Regions from separate parts of the Homo sapiens genome. Here all the other regions are linked to region 4. The links are contacts of gene promoters, found by promoter capture Hi-C in blood cells and fetal thymus (Javierre and others, 2016). All regions are on one chromosome and are shown on one strand. Each heading gives the region's core, a stretch centred on a gene start or on the middle of the fragment in contact. The rest is flanking DNA. Distances are from core to core; before and after follow the strand shown.

Region 1 (2,934 bases), core at 161-2,660, 730 kb after region 4:
GAGTTTCATAGAATTTACAAGCAAAACCCATTGGGTTGGTGTTATTTTGATAGTCTTTAAATGAAAATATAACTGAAAATTATTATTTTTCAAAATTTTGATTTAGATTTCTGCCAGTTTTAATAATGTGCCCTTTTCTGGGAACTTAATCTAAATATTGAAGTTAATTGATATATAATTTTTCAAATAATCTTATTTTTACAGGAGTTTTGCTAATATTTCCTTTATCATTCTTGATATTAGTTATTTATGCCTATCTTTTGTCTTTTTAATTTTGTCAAATAATTTTTACCATTTAACTCATTTATAAAATAATAATTTTTCATTTGTTGATCTTCTTCATAGTATATTTATTTTATATTTTATTATTTTTACACCTATATTGATTATTTTTTCAATTGCTTGGTTCAATTTAATGTTGTTCCTTCATAACATACATGTACAGAAGACTAATTTTTTGTCATTTTGGAAATCATATTTTATTATTTAAATCCTTTGTAACTCCTAAGACTTGTCTTCTGACCCAACATATGATTAATTTTGCTAATTTTTCCATTCTGACTTAAAAATCAAAGTATTCTATGTCGGAATGTGCTATTATACATAGACTAATTAGTTCAAGCTTGCTATTGATGCTGTTAAATTTTTATAACTATTTACTGAGTGTTGGTATTCTTATTCTATAATGTGAAAAATACGTTTTAAAGGCTTTTTGTTCTGTTTGTGAATTTGTCCAGTTCCACTTTTATTTCTGTCAAATTTTCTTTGATTAGTATTACCTAAATTAGAATTTAACCCCTTTGGGCATTGTCACTTTTATTATTAGACATATTCCTCTTATACTCTAATAGTGCTTCTTGCCTTAAAGTCTAACAATTTGTATAATATTACTGTAGCTTTCTTTGAGTTAAAATGTATACAGTATACTGCATCTGTCCTTTTATATTTAACATTTTTATATTCTTTTTAAAAAGTTGTGTCTCTTTTAAGTGGCAAATGGCACTTATTTATATTTCAGTTAGAATATTTTAACCATTAGCATTTAGTGTAATGAAGATATTTTTATTTATGTATACAATCACATTCTTATGTATTCATCAGAGGTATTTAATGTCCCTTTTTTCTGTCCTTTCTTCACATTTATAAATTATAGTTTTAGAATTTATTTATTTGCTCTTAGTTTTTTGTTTCTGTATTCTTTTAGAACAATCATCCCTCAGTATCTGTAAGGGATTTGTTCCAGGATCCCCCTTGGATACCAAAATTTGGGATATAGTATTTGCATGTAACTTACACACATCCTCCCATGTACTTTAAATCATTTCTAGATTACTTGCAATACTTACTTTAATGTAAATGTTATGTAAATTGTTGTTATACTGCATTGTTAGGGAATAATTACAAGAACAAGTCTGTAAATGGTCAGTATAGTTGTACTTATATTTTTGTTTCTTTGTGGAAATACATTTGATCTCCATCGGTTGACTCCATAGATGTAAAAAGCATGAATATGACTGGACAATTATATATTAGTATTATTTTCTTTGAGGTTACAAGATCCATCCCTGACTATGAAAGAATATTATAAATTAGTATTTTATTGTGTATTTTGCTCCATTTAACCTCTTCTGCCTTGAGTTCTCTTGTTCAGTTAAAACTTTATTGAATTTGTAACCTCACAATATATTGTTATTAATGGTACTGGCTTGTTATGTTTGGTCAAATATTTGAATTTTTATTTCTTTCATTTCTTTCTTTTTTTAAACTCCTTTTTTATTTTATATTTCCACATAATTAAATTGTATTAATTTCTTTCTATTGGTGGTAACATGCTGTCACTTTCTTTGGTTGCTTGAAATATTTTTTTTCTTTATTGTCCAAAGGTGTTCACAATGGACATAGCATTTAACATTTTTCATTACTATTTTGAATCACTTAAAAGTTGTCTTGTACTCTAGATTGGCCATTATTTTTCAAAAATTGTTGTGACGATGTCATTCCTTTGTCTTTCATATTTTGTTTTCTTTTGTTTGTTTCTTTTTTTGTGAAGTTAGTTCTCAGTAAAATCATTTACTTTGGAAGGTTATAATCCCACCCCGCACCATTTGGGTTCTTTTAGTTTTCTTTTTGTGTTTGGTTTTCAGCAATCTTTAATGATGTGCCAACGTGAAAGTTTTATTTATTTAAAAAAAGCTTGAAGAAATTTACCCTTCCTGAAGTTTATAACTGTTCTTGAATTTGTATCTTGATGCATTTTAAAATATTACTTCTGTATCTTTGTTTATATTTCATATAACTAAGAATAACATTATTATTATTGTTATTATTGAGGCAGAGTCTCACTCTGTTGCTCAGGCTTGAGTGAAGTGGCTCGATTATGGCTCACTGTAGCCTCAACCTTCTAGGCTCAAGCAATCCTCCCACCTCAGCCTCCCTAGCTGGCACTACAGGCATGTGCCACCATGCCTGGCTTATTTTTGTATTTTTTGTATAGATGAGGTTTCACCATATTGCCCAGGCTGGTCTCAAACTCCTGAGCTCAAGCAATCTGCCTGCCTTGGTCTCCCAAAGTGCTAGAAATACAGGTGTGAGCCACTGCATCCAGCCCACAATAACATTATTTATGTACTTGTTTTACTGACCTCTGCCAACTTTTCTCATCTTTTCTCTTGATTTTGTGACTATAAATCATTTTTTTAAAAGTCTTTGGCTGATAACTCCAATAACTGCTTCTTACCCTAGGTCAAATTTTACTGTTTGTTTTGACTGAATGTTAAAACTTAAGTCTAATCTTTCTGTACTCTGAGTGGTTTTGATTAAAAGCTGGACATTATTTAAGAAAACTAGAAAACAAATGTAATGTTCTGGATGGTGCGATAGATTGGATATTCTCTCAAGAAAGAAGCTAAAGTGAAATCAATATGTATTAAGATT
Region 2 (3,014 bases), core at 74-2,573, 800 kb after region 4:
GGAGAATGGCGTGAACCCGGGAGGCGGAGCTTGCAGTGAGCCAAGATAGCGCCACTGCACTCCATCCTGAGCGACAGAGTGAGACTCTGTCTCAAAAACAAAAAACAAACAAACAAACAAACAAAAAACTACCTAGAATCAGAGCATAGCCACTTAAATGATCTCCTGCATCCATTTTGCCATTACATCACTTATGAAATGGAAATCCGAGTTAAATTTTAAAATGGCAAGTCTGATCGTATTTCACCCTTTTACAATCTTTAATTGGACTTTCAATGCTCTAAGCAAAACAGAGAAAAATATTCATTGTGGCTTACAGAACTTTCTCTGGTTTCTACACTTGCTTACCCTGTTTATACAGATCAGGTGAGGCTACTCTGCTATATACTCTTACAAAATACATATTTTTAATCATTATTCTAATTATAATTTTACATGCATTTGTGAGATTATGTGACTAGTGCTGTTCTCTTATTAAGCTCTAAATCTTTGAGGGCAAGGACTGTTTCAGGTTCTGGTCATGATTTTATCCCAGGCACCCCGCCCACTGCCTCGCCTAAAGTATGTGGTCAATAAATACTCCTTATTGCAGGTGTTTTTGAAAAATAGTAACCCAGAGAAAATCTGAAGTGGCATTTTAAAAGGACCTGTTTGAGCTCAAAAAAGGATGGCTTCAGATGCTAGAAAGAGGAGAGAAAAAAGGAAATAGAGAAAAAATCTTAAAAAGGCTGCTTTTAGTAAATACTTGTTTAAGTAAATACTTGTTTGCAATTTATGTGAGAATTTATTGGAGAAGATCGAGGTAGGGTTAGATCAATTGATCATTGAGCAAATATAATTCCAGGACTCCTAAATGAAAAGTAGAGGAAAACACAATTTGCCAGAATTTGTGCAGGAGAGGAGTTAAGATGGAATTAATAATTTTTAGAGAAGGGAGATTTTGACATCTGCTTCAAACTAACAAGACTCCCAAACAAGAACAATTTTGATACTGTCACTTATATGCCTATCACAATTACAACCATATAAAAAGATGCATGTCTATGGCATAATAAAATACTTAAACTTGCCAAATGGAATGAGGCAGGAGTGTCAATCAAAACACTCACTATATTACGGAATTTTTTTTCTTGTATTAATGACGCTTGATAAAAAAAAAAACAGGAATCTATGTGACAGAACAGATTTTTAAAATTAAGCTGGGTGCACTTTTGCTGAAATACTAATTCTAATAAGGATATAGAAAAATTGGAGTTTTGAACACAGGGCACTTTGCAGTTAAGATGTATCACCTGATGCCACTGAGAACAACAATATAGGAATTTTAAAGATTCATAGAAGTGACAATATAGCTAAGATGATTTAACATTACTAGTTCAAGACAGATGTGTCCAATAAAACATTGTATTTATCATATCAATTGGATATTTCTTTGATGGAATCTATTTTGAACAGTAATGAATTAAAAGTTAAAGAAAATATGAAATCAAGGTGAAGCATGTCACAAATGTCTTTGTGATGATTTCCTGTCTACGATTATATCACCTAACTTACTGAATGGTTGGTCAAGTAACTAAAAGTATGAAACTACCCTACTGATTTATTTCTACTTATTTGGACAAAAAGGAAAGACTCTTCTGTGGAATGAGCTGTGGTTGTGGGAATAGAAGGGAAATCCTGCCTAGACAGTGAGTGAAGGAAAAAGAAAATGAAAATAGTTGCCAGAAATACAGGAAAATAAAATAAATTAAATGATTGGCGCCCTAAATTTGAAAGGCGTGGTGTTGGAATGCTTTTATTTGTGGAAGAAAATAAATATAATTTCTCGTTTCAACTTATCCTCATACTAGCACAGTGGCATTATTGTTATTGCTGGTATTATTCCACTTCAGTAATGGTAATTGTAGCAGCAGCAGTAGTACTAGCATTAATAACAGTAATTGTAGTAGTAACAGTAGTAGTTTTTATAACAACACAAGTGGTTTTCTAGTACTGGTTTTCTAGCACTAGTGGTGGTAGAGGTGGTAATTTTTATTATTGTTATAGAATTCAAATTCATAGCAGGGATCAAATGATACACTGAAAAGGCTTGATTGAAGACAGTTTCATGAAGGATTATCTATAGTTTCATGGACCGAATACATGGAACCAACAGGAGACAACCAAGAGACTAGCAACATTAAAAGCAGTCTTGAGCCTGGTCCTAGGGAGGAATGTGAACTGAGTGAGTGAGAGTTAATATCATAGATGAGCCATGTACAGGCCTGTGACTCAAGATAACCGATGTTAGCTACTTGATGGAAGCAACTCAGGTGTAGGGGTGATAAATACTTCAAATACTCTTTCCTCCTGCTGTCTGATGTCCTGGAATGCCTCCCAAGGGCAGCCAACAGAAAGCCACGGACAAGTTTGCTCAAGTGTTGCATTCCACAGACAGCAACCTCCCAGGGCATGAAACAGGACAGAGAAGGGTAGAAAAGGAATTTGGAGGAGCAATGGGAGAATGAAGAACAACAATAGACTGCATTTAGTTTGCAGTTACTGTATATCACATGCTGTTCAAGTTCATTTACATGCATTATCTGATCCATAATCAACATTGTTATTAACCTTGATTTACAAATAGTAACAACCTCATAAAATGAGTTGATAATAACCCCATTTCATGTACGGGTCAGATGTAGATTACTTTGTTTAAAAGTTTCAACATTACCCTCTGTAGGAATTCAAGCCTCAAATTATGAAGTTCTTCATTTTAAAAGAATTGCTTCCCTTTGTGTGAGTTAAGGATAATAAAAAATGGAGATAGAATTGACAAATATTTAGTTGGCTAAAGGAAGCTGCAAAAGAAATTAGGGGGAGCTGTAGTACTAAATTGAAAGGGGAAAGAAAGTAAAGAAAGTAAAGCTTCATATAGACAAGTTCAGACACAGCAGTTGAGTTTCTTAGAGACTCAAGGTTCTTTACTTTTCTATATAGAAGAGAAGAGCACACATACCACGTTGTTTCTCCAT
Region 3 (3,315 bases), core at 437-2,936, 780 kb after region 4:
GGGGACATATGTGAGTATCCTAATCCACGTAGATACACATTTCTATAAATATTTCTGTATATAACCATTTGTTTTTGGTATTTATCCTGCTTAATGTTCTCTTCACTTCTTGAATCTGTGGTTTGGAATCTGTCATGAAATTTTGAAAGCTTTCTGTCATTATTACTTCAAATATTTCTTCTGCAGTGTTCGCTTACATTTCCTTCTGGCATCCCAACTTTGTTTGTGCTATACTTTTTCAGATTGTCCTACAGTTTTCTGATGTTTTCTTCATTTATTTTTTTCATTGTTTTCTTCTCTTTGTATTTCAGTTTGAGAAGTTTCTATCGACGTATCTTCACCTACTCCTCAGTGATGTCCATTCTATTGCTAAGTTGATTGAAGGCATTCATCATTTCTGTTACAGTAGTTTTGATCTCTAGCATTTCCTTTAGATTATTTCTTAGGTTTTCCATATCTTTGCTTATATTACCAATCTGTTGTCTCCTTTTTCCATTTAGACCTTTAACATATTAGTCATATTTTAAATTCCTGTCTGATAATCCTAAAATGTGAGTCTTATCAGTTTAGTTCTAATACTTGCACTATCTCTTCAGACTGTTTTGTTCTGCCTTTTACATTGCCTTGAAACTTGTTCTTGATATCCAGGCAATGGGATCTAAGGTTAATAGGCCTTTAGTTGAAAATTTACGTTCATATTGGTAGGAGATTTGTTGAATGTTTGCTGTGGGTATATCTAGAGGCTTCAACCACCTCTAGTGACCTTGTATTTGTCGTTCTTTTTATCTGTGCCTTACAACTCTTTCAGCTGTTTTCCATTATTATTATACTGGAGCCTTGATAATATTGAGCTAGGTGTTGTGGAAGGTGAGTTTTACATATTTATTTCAGTTAAATCTCAGTCTTTTATTTGTCAGTTGTTTGTTACTTTCACCAGTGTTTCTAGTTTGATGAGACAGAAAGCTTAGGAACTAGTGGAGGGAAAGAATGCTCTTCCTTCATCTGACTGGGGCAAGTCTCTGGCAGCCTTTTCCCCTGGAGAGTCGGCCTTTTAAATGGAAAAGGCTCTGGGTGCACTTCCCAAGGATTGCTCTTCCTTTCCTCCTACTCCAAGCACAAAGGACTATTTCCTGGATCTTCCCTACAAAAACCTGGTACATTTCCTAAAGGTAAAATTCATAAAAGTGTGGGGACTCCGCTTCACCTGTACCTTTCAGGATTTTTCATTTATACAGCAGTTCCTACTTAGCATCCAGAAATCTCACAAATTCACCACTTCTGTATTATTACTAGTCTATGTCTCCAGCAGCTTCTCTTTCAGATAATCAGATTTTGAGTGTGACTTTTCTCGATTCACTTGTCTTTCCAGATTTCAGGGTGGTAATTTGCCCTGCAAACTCATTTCTCTGTGTCCAACAAAAAAAATCATTGGTTTTCAGTTTGCTTGCTTTTCTTCATGTTGCAAGAATGAAAGTGAGAACGTCTAACCTTGTTACATGTTGGAGCTAAAATGGGAAGTTCCAACTAGCTTTAAAATTCTTTTTTGTCTTCTTCTTTTTCTGTGAGAATGCTCAGTTGATAGTGGCCTCTAGTGGAAATTACTATTTCCTCGTCCCTCTCCTTATGCTTTATCTTCATCTTCCTTGTGAAAGTTCTTACATGGTTACCTGAATTTTTAAAAATATTGCTTTAGTATTACTTTATTTTTGGCATTTGTACTCCCTTCTGTCTCCTGTTTTGCTGTTGGAAATCTCTGAATTGCATCATGGCAACTTCCCTATTCAAGTGTCCTTTCTTCCAGCCTATAATATGGTAGCTGAACACTGATTTAAAATAGAAAATTTTAACTCAGGTCTTTGAGTAAAATTAATTCTGTTGATTATTTCTAGGCTTTCTTTGGGTGAATTTCTTGAAATATTCTAATTATGAGGTTTAGGTGTATTTACTTATTTATGCTTGCTTTCTTTTCATTCCTTATCACCATATTTCCATGTGTATAAATCACATGAATGGAAAAATTACTAACACAAACCCTTTCTTGAAATCTTCTTTGATACTTCAGCTTAACATTTTCAAAATTATGCTAATAAATGAGCACAAAGTAATTGTTAAAAGACATAAAGTTCTGATCTTTTGTTTCTTTTGGGTCACACTCATATATTTATACTCTATTCCATTAATTAAAAAAATTATAGAAAAAGAGACATTTGAAAATTCATAAGCTCTGATAAGATTTATGCATGTTTTTGAAAGGGACAATGGATATAAAAGTGAATTGTGGCAAAACTTTGAAAAAGAGTCACATTTTTATGGGGCTAAAATTCTTTAGATACTGAAGAAAGAGAAGATTCCGGGCTTGTCCTGTCAATTGTTGTATGGCATCTGCAGTATGCTTTGTTACTAAGCTTGTAAATGAGTAAAACATGTGTTCTTTTAATCCTCTGGGTAGTACTTTATTACTGTAGTAATGATTACAATGAATCTGTGGTGGCCTGAAAGGGGTAGTACATAGTCTATATTATCTCTGAAAGCAACATATAGAGAATATGTGAATTAATTTAGTTTGGTGGAGATTCTGGGTAAATTCCAAAAGTGGATTAGTGAAACAATTAATTTATCTTTTCAAAAAAATGTTTAAAAATATACAATACAAGCGTATCATTTCAGGTTACTAGTACTTTAAAACTAAATGAAAATGTTGCAATATAATGATATTTCAATAAGAAAAAAGTCTATTTGCAAACTAATGCAGTAGAATACATACATCCTTATTCTACTTTGTATATCACCTATAAGAAGGTCAATCACAAAGTACAAAGGATTAATTATATTCAGATTACCTGATACATTGTTCTAGGCAATTACTTTTAAAATATTTGCAAGAAAGCCCTCAAAGTGCAAATAATTTATATTCAGCTATGGTTTTTAAAAATGAGAACACTTAAAAAGTATATTTTAAGACTTGATACATTTATGTTCTGATATTTGACACATAATTATCTCAGTTGTTGGTAGATTTCACTAAATTTGGTATTGAAATGAAAAAATAAAGCAAATACAAAAACTGCATAGATACTAAGAAGAAATCAGGTAAAGAAAAATAATATTTTCCAAGTCCATATGTTTTAAATATATTATGTCTGATATAGCAAATATAATGTTAGTGTTTAAAACCTGAGATAAAATTTTCTTAGAGATGTAGTAATATTTTTATAACATACAGATATGAACATAAAATACAACATTCTCAAGAAAAACTCAAAGTTAAGAAGTTAAATTTTTTTAAATAAAAAATGCCAGAGAAGTATAATATTG
Region 4 (2,876 bases), core at 274-2,773:
GCAGGGAAAACCTCTTCCTTCTTTCCCACTGTGTGCTTTACGAAGTGAAAGTGAAGATTCGCAGAGACACGGTCTGATACACCTCTATAGTATGACTATCATCATTTAAATTTTTTTTTTTTTTAATGGGAGTAGGAGACAGAAATGTGTGGCTATTCCAGATGATTAAACTTCTTGGTTCTTGAATGTTCTGAGTCATAGTTAACTCAGGTGGCCAGCCCTTTGCACTGACAGAGACCTGCATTTAACTCCCCATAAAATATGGATTTTATTGCAGCAGTGACACTTCTTAGCACCACGCTGACCTCTCCAGCATCTCCCATCTCGAGATCTACGGTAACTCATGACAGAATATCTAACTACGGAAGAAGTAATCTCAGCTCTGCAACTGCTGCAGTCCACAACATTGCAGCGTCCCTTTTTATTAAATTCTGGGATTAACGCATTGGGGGCTCCAATTTTCCAGCATCTGGCACCGAAAACCAAGCGCACTCCAACCACTCTCCAATCAGTCCGGGGAAGGCTTTATCCCCCAGATTTGAGCCTGGCCAGCCGTGGAGGAGCACGAGCGAACTGCGCCTTCCATATGACTTTTCCCTGGACAGTGTGCTCCATTTTCGGAGTCCAGTGTTGGACTTTCCTTGCAACCTAAGCATTTCTGTCCTAGATGAGCCGGCAGGCGTTGCCCGGAACGTGCAAGCTAACAGTTTTCTTTAGCTCCTTCTACCAGCCAAATCGTCTCTTTAGTTTAAGTTTTCCTTACTGGGAGCATTCCAGAGTTTTCAGACTACCTGATTTTCTGCTTTACCCCAAAAGCTAAGAAATGTAACTCAGCCCAAGCAGTCACCACGCAGACCCTTATGATGCGGGCAGGTGGAGATAAATCAAGCCCCAAACGGCTCGGCGGGACCTGCACGCACCAGCGCCCTTTGGTAATTGACCAGCCAACTTTGCAAATGCCAGAGCTCCCCTGGCAGCCTCTGCCGGCGTAGAGAAAGGCAGCGGGTTCTTCTGCGGCGGCCCGCTTCCCGGTGCCCCCACCCAGCCCCACGGCGGATCGGTCTTACCAGGAGGCGGAGGAGCGGTGCCCAGGCTCCCCGGGAAGCGGCGTCGGTCCTGAGCAGCGGCAGCAGCGCCGCCCGCGCAGCCGGACCCGCGCGCCCGCCCCGACCCGGGCTCGCAGGCTGAGAGCATCCCTCCCAACTCCGGCGCGGCACCCACCGGGCGGAGAGGGCTCTCTCTCTGATTGGCTTCTATCAACGCTACAGAATTAAAAAAAAAAAAAGGGAGATGTATGCATAGCCAACGGAGCCCGAACCCACCTCTGCTCGCCTTCCTGCGCCCGCGGAGACCCTGCGACCCGCCCAGGCTGCTCCTGCCTCCGCCGCCGCCGCCGCCGCGGTCGCCGGCTCTGCCGTTCTTGCTGTCGCGGCTGAAACTGCAGCTCTTGGGATGCGAAGGTTACGGGCTCGGGAGAGCTGGCTCTTGTGGGCACACACTGATTTGCAAGTGAATGAAGTGGGAGGGAGCAAAGAGAGGAGGACTTTGTTAAAGAGGCCCAGTGCCTGCCCCCGCCCGCCCCCTCCCCTTGACAGAATGACTCCCAGTGTTTGAAGTCCTGAGCAATTCGCTCCCTGGAACACTCCTTCAGCCCCAGGCTTTCCCTTGCTTTCTTTCTTTCTTTCTTTCTTTCTTTTTTTTGTTGGAGGGGGTTTAAGATATACTCAGAACTTGTATGACTCCGTCTGTTTCCTCTTTTGTACTATCAAAATGCACCTTGTGCTATTATCAGCAATGGTCTGATGTTCTTTTTTTTTCACCGACCAAGCAATTACAATTCCCAGGGACACAGTACCTCGTCACTCTATCAGTTGGCCAGCTTCGTGTGATAGCACGTATAACATGCACACACATAAAACAAGCCGGTCTCCTGAGATGACAATACCGATGGCTTTTCTTTACAACATAAACAGGCGTTCTCCAGATGCAAGCAGACATGGATAGATTCATACATGTCTTTCCTTCTCTCCTCCCAGGAAGACACGCTTTCACGTAGCCCCATGATCTCTGTTACTCTTTTGGAGTGACCCCAGGATGTCGTAGCATGAAGCCATGCTTCCCTGGGCTTGCAGAAACACTGAAAACCCAAACCCTTCAGGCTTGCCAATGACTTATGACTGATGCCATCGTTCTAAATGAATTGATACAAGCATACAAAAGACTTGCAGAAGAGGGGTGTACAATGATATTCAAGGTCTGCTTAACGTTCGAAGATCCTTCTGGAAAGTTGCCGAAGTTGGATAACCTTCAAATTAAACTCTTTAGTACACATAGCTGTTTGAATGGCTAGATTGATAGTTACAAAGAGGTAATATCTAATGTTAAGGTACTAAGCCACAAAAATGTGAAACATGTCAAAGTACCATTAAATGAGAGTAATGATTTTCTACATAGGAGACATAGGCATGATGGAGTCAGCCACTGTTGGATTAGGAAAATTAAATCTAATTACCACAGTGATTGCACCCAGGGTCACTAGCCTCCCAAACCAGCTGTTCGCCTGTGCTGCAAGTTCTCAGGGAGATTTCCATTGCACAGAGCTCTAAGAAATGCCAGGCTGCTTGGCCTCTGAGTAGTTAAACTGGCTGGAGGTTGGTCCTGTTCCCAACTGAGCTCTTACTAGAAAACCTTTTGTTTCTCCAATAGAAGTTCAGGCATTTAAATAAAGCCCAAATCAAAAGTATTCCTTTAGGCAGCCAGTGCTTCAAAGAAGTGTGCATGGAATGGTTTTAGCACAGATGTTCTGCACATGGAAGATGGAAAGATTTGAGTTTCTTTCTGGAAAAGACCTTCCCCAAATGAAGAATTGCTACCAA

The links. Contacts are between HindIII fragments. The CHiCAGO score rates a contact against its expected background, and 5 or more counts as called.
Region 1: a fragment that was not itself captured here is called in contact with the fragment with the promoter of CDH6 in region 4 in 1 of 17 cell types (M2 macrophages); the score reaches 6.4 in M2 macrophages.
Region 2: a fragment that was not itself captured here is called in contact with the fragment with the promoter of CDH6 in region 4 in 2 of 17 cell types (M2 macrophages and M1 macrophages); the score reaches 8.2 in M2 macrophages.
Region 3: a contact is called between a fragment that was not itself captured here and the fragment with the promoter of CDH6 in region 4, in 3 of 17 cell types (M2 macrophages, M0 macrophages and M1 macrophages). The highest score is 9.1, in M2 macrophages.

What each region holds. Positions count from the first base shown.
Region 1 is chr5:30,461,054-30,463,987 of GRCh38, reverse strand. No RefSeq gene overlaps it. Among named protein-coding and RNA genes, the nearest start is that of CDH6, 730 kb to the left of the region's middle. The HindIII fragment of the contact is 1,571 bases long and covers 625-2,195 here.
Region 2 is chr5:30,389,621-30,392,634 of GRCh38, reverse strand. No RefSeq gene overlaps it. Among named protein-coding and RNA genes, the nearest start is that of CDH6, 800 kb to the left of the region's middle. The HindIII fragment of the contact is 3,173 bases long and covers 1-2,909 here.
Region 3 is chr5:30,412,011-30,415,325 of GRCh38, reverse strand. No RefSeq gene overlaps it. Among named protein-coding and RNA genes, the nearest start is that of CDH6, 780 kb to the left of the region's middle. The HindIII fragment of the contact is 1,442 bases long and covers 966-2,407 here.
Region 4 is chr5:31,192,333-31,195,208 of GRCh38, reverse strand. CDH6 (cadherin 6) reads right to left here and starts at 1,523. Exons shown (of 12, transcript NM_004932.4): 1 at 1,323-1,523. The HindIII fragment of the contact is 5,513 bases long and covers 1-2,876 here.